2 separate regions of the Homo sapiens genome follow, and region 2 is linked to region 1. The links are contacts of gene promoters, found by promoter capture Hi-C in human tissues and cell types (Jung and others, 2019). All regions are on one chromosome and are shown on one strand. The core of a region is centred on a gene start or on the middle of the fragment in contact, and the rest is flanking DNA. Distances in the headings are between cores, read along the strand shown.

Region 1 (2,726 bases), core at 1-2,500:
TTCCAGCACTTTGGGAGCCCGAGGCAGGTGGATCACGAGGTCAGGAGTTCGAGACCAGCCTGGCCAATATGGTGAAACCCCGTCTCTACTAAAAACACAAAAATTAGCTGCGCATGAAGGCGCGCGCCTGTAGTCCCAGCTACTCGGGAGGCCGAGGCAGGAGAATGGTGTGAACCCCGGAGGCGGAGCTTGCAGTGAGCCGAGATTGCGCCACTGCACTCCAGCCTAGGCGACAGATCCAGACTCCGTCTCAAAAAAAAAAAAAAAAAGGCCGGGCGCAGTGGCTCACACCTGTAATCCCAGCACTTTGGGAGGCCAAGGCGGGTGGATCACAAGGTCAGGAGATCGAGACCATCCTGGCTAACACAGTGAAACCCCGTCTCTACTAAAAATACAAAAATTAGCCAGGTGTGGTGGCGGGCGCCTGTAGTCCCAGCTACTCGGGAGGCTGAGGCAGGAGAATGGCGTGAACCCGGGAGGCGGAGCCTGCAGTAAGCCGAGATCGCGCCACTGCACTCCAGCCTGGGAGACAGAGCGAGACTCCGTCTCAAAAAAAAAAAAAAAAAAAAAAAAAGAAAAGAAAAGGAAAGAAAGAAAAGAAATCCTAAAACGCAAATTCCACCAGAGAACCCTGCCTTCTTCTCATCCCTCTGATCTACCCCCTGCCCCCACCCAGCCTGGAGCGCGTGGGCGCCGTCTCCCCCTCCCTGGGCCCCTCTGTCCACCCCCTTCAGCCTTCAGTGTTCTCGGTCACAAGCGGTGATGTCCACTGCAGCCCGCACACCTGCTCCCGCGGGGCCGGGACCCCTGACCCCTGACCCCTGCAGCGCTGCGCCCCGCCCTCCCTCGTGCGCGGCCCGGACCCCGCCACCCTGCAGGATTGCGCCTACTCCGACTGCCCCTTCCCTATCGTCCCACCCTGCGCGCCCAACCCACCGGCGACACCCGGCCGCGCCCCCGCCCCGGTCCGTGTGACTCGGCGCCCGGAAAGACGATACCAGCCCCGGGAGGGGGGCGCTCCCTCCCGACACCAGCGCTGGGCGCGGAGACCCAGCCTGCGGCGAGTGGTGGCCAGGTTCCCCGCCCCGCGCCCCGCCCCGCGCCCCGCCCCGCGCGTCCCTTCTTGCGGGGCCACCGCGACCCCGCAGGGGACTCCGAAGCCAAAGTGCCTCCTCCCCGCCCCTTGGTTCCGCCCGCGCGTCACGTGACCCCAGCGCCTACTTGGGCTGAGGAGCCGCCGCGTCCCCTCGCCGAGTCCCCTCGCCAGATTCCCTCCGTCGCCGCCAAGATGATGTGCGGGGCGCCCTCCGCCACGCAGCCGGCCACCGCCGAGACCCAGCACATCGCCGACCAGGTGGGTGGGCCGCGGGGACGGGGCCGGCCCGGAGTCCTGCCTTAGCCTCAGGGCGCGGCCGCGGCTCCTGGAGCGAAAGAAGCCGCTTTGGCCCCGCTGCGCACCCCTGGGCTGGCCCGGGCTGTGGCCGTGAGAGGCCTCCCTCCGCTCGGGCGCTGCGCGCGAGTGAGCAGCGGGGGGCCGCGCCTGGGGCGCCGCTGGGGAGACATTGGGCTCCGCTGAATACAGCAAGGGCGAGTGGGAATTGATAGCCCGGAGCAGGGTGCGGTCCCTGCATGGACAGTCTCTGAGAGGAAACCCCAGGGATGAGGCGCTTCTGGTTTCAGGCAGGCAGGGTGATCGGGCGTCGCCGGCGATGGCGCAGGTGAGCAGCCGGCTCCGATCTCCACGGTGATCCGATAGCAAGCGGGTGGGAAGGGTCTGGCTAAACTGACTTAGCCAGGCTTCTTGCTAAAAGTGGATTTTACAAGGAAGTGCGCAGGTGGCCTAGGCGCTTCAGGAGCCCGACTACAGTTTGGCCAAGCAAGAATCTTTGTCAATATCCTCATCTAGTTCGGGAAAAAAATCATGAGAGAGAGTGCAAGAGGTCCCCAGTGATAAGGCACATGGGTTAAAAACTTAAGTGTATCTGCATAAAAGGTCCACAGGTTTCTTTACATGCTTCCGATTCTAGCACTGTTTCAAACTGTAAGTCTAAATAAAAAGTTAAAACACAGAAAAACAAGATAAAAACCGGGCTGGGTTGCAGATGGCAACCTTCCCTGTGTCTCGGTTTCCTCGTCTGTAAAATGGACGTCCTGTTGCTCTGCGCCTGCCAGAAGATTCTGGAGGGGCTGAAATGAGCAGGTCATCTGTGCAAGAAGCCCCCTCCGGTGGAGCACAGGCCAGGCCCGCCTCGCTGTCATGGTTGGTGACCGACGGGATGCCCCAAGCAAGAACAGGTCCAGGCGATGCTGAGGCCTGTGTTTTTTTTTTTTGTTTTTGAGACTCAGTCTCACTCTTGCCCAGGGTGGAGTGCAGTGGCACAATCTCGGCCCACTGCAACCTCCGCTTCCCAGGTTCAAGGGATTCTCCTGCCTTAGCCTCCCGAGTAGCTGGGATTGCAGGTGCTCGCCACCACGCCCAGCTAATTTTTGTATTTTTAGTAGAAACGGGGTTTTGCCATTTGGCTAGGCTGGTCTCAAACTCCTGACCTCAAGTGATCCGCCCACCTCAGCCTCCCAAAGTTCTGGGATTACATCCTTGAGCCACCGTACCCAGCTGGAACTGTTTTTTTCTACTTTATTATTAGGCTGACAGTTTAAATGTCCCTTCAGTTGTAAGAGACAATTGTGTGAAGAGCCAGTGTCAGAATCGTGTGTGTGCTCACATG
Region 2 (3,137 bases), core at 251-2,750, 100 kb after region 1:
CTGTCTTCTCCAGCCGCTCTCTGCTGTGAAGCAGTGTCCTGGGTACCCTGTGCCAGGCTGCACGACGGCAAGTAACTCCCATGAGCAAATGCCACGGAGCAGGAGGAACGAACAGGGGAATCACTTACTCCTTCGTCTTCGCAGCAATTTTGCAGAATGGATCGATAAACTTGAGATTCTGATCTGCTAAAAGCTGTAATTTAGAAAAAGGGAAAAATTGAGAAAGAGCCTTTCCCTTCTTGACATGTCCTTGAAAAAGGGACCATTCCCATCTTTTACAAAGGTGGAGTTAGACCAAGCAATGCCTGTCTCACACAGCCCCAAAGCGCCCCTGTGGAATGCCACAGAAGCCTGGAGCCAGGCTGAAGACTGAGGCCGCCCTCCAGCTACTTGGTATCTTAGTGCAGTGGCTGGAGAAAGCCACCCAGCCTGACCTGCACTATCCTATATGCCCAACATATACAACACGGGTGTCCAATCTTGTGACTTCCCCAAGCCATAATGGAAGAATAACTGTCTTGGGGCACACCTAAAATACACAAACACTAACAACAGCTGATGAGCTAAAAATAAAATAAAATAAAATAAAATAAAATAAAATAAAATAAAATAAAATAAAATGCAAAATACCCCTCATATTTTAAGAAAGTTTATAAATTTGTGTTGGGCCACATTCAAAGCTGCCCTGGGCCCCATGCAGCTCTCAGGCTGCGGGCTGGACAAACCTGATACAGGACATACATATACTTCCTCTACAAGAGGGGTAACAGGGACAGTGCCTCCAAGTGTGAGACAAAAGAATTATTGTTTTGAATATAACATATTTTCTTTTAATCAAAAAAATACATGTTCCCTGCAAAACACCTGTGAAAGAAAAGTAAAATCTGTGCACATTCCCACATTCAGAGAATCATTTGCATACTAAAAAATGTATGTTTCCTTTCCAGCCTTTTGTCTATTTATGAGTATATACCTTAAAAATGTCTACCATTTGCATAGCTTTTCCTAGCGCTTTATAAAGCTCCCTAGATCCTGAGTACTCCCCCGTGTTAGTGAGTTCTTTAGTGGAGTCTGTAGGTTGCTTTCAATTCCGTTTTACAGGTAAGACTGTCATGTACATCCTCAGTGCACAAATCCCATCCCACCAGCTGCTTAGGACACATTCCCAGACAGGACTGAAGCAATTCACGCTGCTACAGTCGCTGGTCATGCGAAGGGCCACCCCACAGCACTTCACTGGCGACTACTGCGAACACTGGCGGCCCCCTCACCCCGTGGGCAGCCTGTCGGCAGCTGCTTACCTCCTTCCCCCCGACTTTGGAGAGTTCATCCAGGTAAATATCAATGAAGTGGAATCTCACTCCATTAGGAGACTGACTCTCAGGACACAGGACCTCCTTCATCAGGACATCCAAGAAAACCTTGATTCGGCTAAAGAACCAAACGCATGCTTCTGTGAATGACAGTATGCCAACACGTCCCACTTCCCAAAGAGAAACAAAAATACTCCGTCTAGAACCTACACAGCCTAACAATCAATGCAAGGCTGAAATCATTTTACAAGGAAAAAAGCAATCACTTAAATCAGGATAAAATGTTAACTGTCATATATACTTAACTGTTTTATGCCTTCTACTGGATTTCAATTCTCTATAGGTAACGATGTATCGAGCTTCTCATTGGTACTCTACAAGTTCAGAAAACTTGACACTCTACTACCTTTTAAGTTTTAAGGCTACCACATGCTAACTCAAATGGTTTACTGACCTTTCTTCCCAGCCATTTCGCTTCAAGACTTCAAAGGACTGCCTCAGGACCAGACGAATCAGCTAAAGAAAGGCAATTTTTGTTTAAAAAAAAAAAAAAAAAAAAAAAAAAGGAAAGGTAAGAAATATTAATCAGCTCAGCAGAATGAAGGGACCAATGAAATTGTTATGGCCTGGATCCCAAAAGTAAAAAAATATTCACAACAGTCATATTTACCTTCTAGATCAAAAAACATATTCATAGCCAAGAACAGTGGCTCATGCCTGTAACCCCAGCATTTTGGGAGGCTGAGGTGGGCAGATCATTTGAGGCCAGGAGTTCAAGACCACCCTGGCCAACATGGCAAACCCTTATCTCTACTAAAAATACAAAAATTAGCCAAGCATGGTGGTGCGCGTCTGTAATCCCAGCTACTCAGGAGGCCGAGGCATGAGAATCACTTGAACCCAGGAGGCGGAGGTCGCAGTGAGCTGAGATCGCACCACTGCACTCCAACCTGGGGAGCAGAGCAAGAGAGACTCTGTCTCAAAAAATACCCAACGTATTCACTAATGCTCCCCAAACTCATCCTTAAGAACTGCAAAAGCCAAAACAGAGAAGCTTTCCAGGACACATTCAAATTCTTCCTTCACACTAAGCCTGTGGCTTGTTTTGCTTCACAAATAAACCTTCCCATTGTTTTTAAGATAAAGGACATTCTTTTCTTCCCAGGAGTTTTTGAAGTAACTGCGGCAGATCTTACCATATAGTATTTGTCCAGGCGTAGCCTGTCTATTCCTTTCCATTCTCGATTCATGGTTTGCCAAAAGGTCTGAATGAACAGGTGTTCTGCAGTGAACAAAAGGCTCTAAATACTTGGCTTCCACATCAACATACTACCATATAGCAAGAAAATAATGAAGAGGAACAAACTAGCATTATTTATTATTCACTTTTCTCAGTAATTCTTGGGCAGCTAGAAAATCTGTTGATAATTAAATATACTCAATCATTTCTTTTACACTTATTTATTAAACATCACTTAGACTGTGCAGATCTTTTACTTTTTTTTTTTTTTTTTTTTGGAGACGGGGTCCCACTCTGTGGCCCAGGCTGGAGTGCAATGGCATGATCTCAGCTCATTGCAACCTCTGCCTCCTGGGTTCAAGTGATTCTCCTGCCTCAGCCTCCCGAGTAGCTGGGATTACAGGTGTGCACCACCACACCCGGCTAATATTTGTATTTTTAGTAAAGACGGGGTTTAACCATGTTGGCCAGGCTGGTCTCAAACTCCTGACCTCAGGTGTTCCACCCACCTCGGCCTCCCAAAGTGCTGGGATTACAGGCGTGAGCCACCGTGCCTGGCCTTGGTCTTTTGAATTTAAATAAAA

The links. The method cuts DNA at HindIII sites, captures the fragments that hold promoters and counts their contacts. A contact is called where the count stands out against the background at its distance.
Region 2: a contact is called between a fragment that was not itself captured here and the fragment with the promoter of CSTB in region 1, in 2 of the 25 tissues and cell types used here (dorsolateral prefrontal cortex and mesendoderm cells).

Annotation. Positions count from the first base shown.
Region 1 is chr21:43,774,832-43,777,557 of GRCh38, reverse strand. It overlaps CSTB (cystatin B), which reads left to right and starts at 1,250. Exons shown (of 3, transcript NM_000100.4): 1 at 1,250-1,354. The coding sequence starts at 1,289. RefSeq lists a silencer at 672-1,671. The HindIII fragment of the contact is 5,981 bases long and covers 1-2,726 here.
Region 2 is chr21:43,673,328-43,676,464 of GRCh38, reverse strand. RRP1B (ribosomal RNA processing 1B) reads right to left here. Exons shown (of 16, transcript NM_015056.3): 4 at 2,510-2,595; 5 at 1,768-1,829; 6 at 1,302-1,431; 7 at 129-193. Among named protein-coding and RNA genes, the nearest start is that of RRP1B, 15 kb to the right of the region's middle. RefSeq lists an enhancer at 1,726-2,225. The HindIII fragment of the contact is 5,299 bases long and covers 1-3,137 here.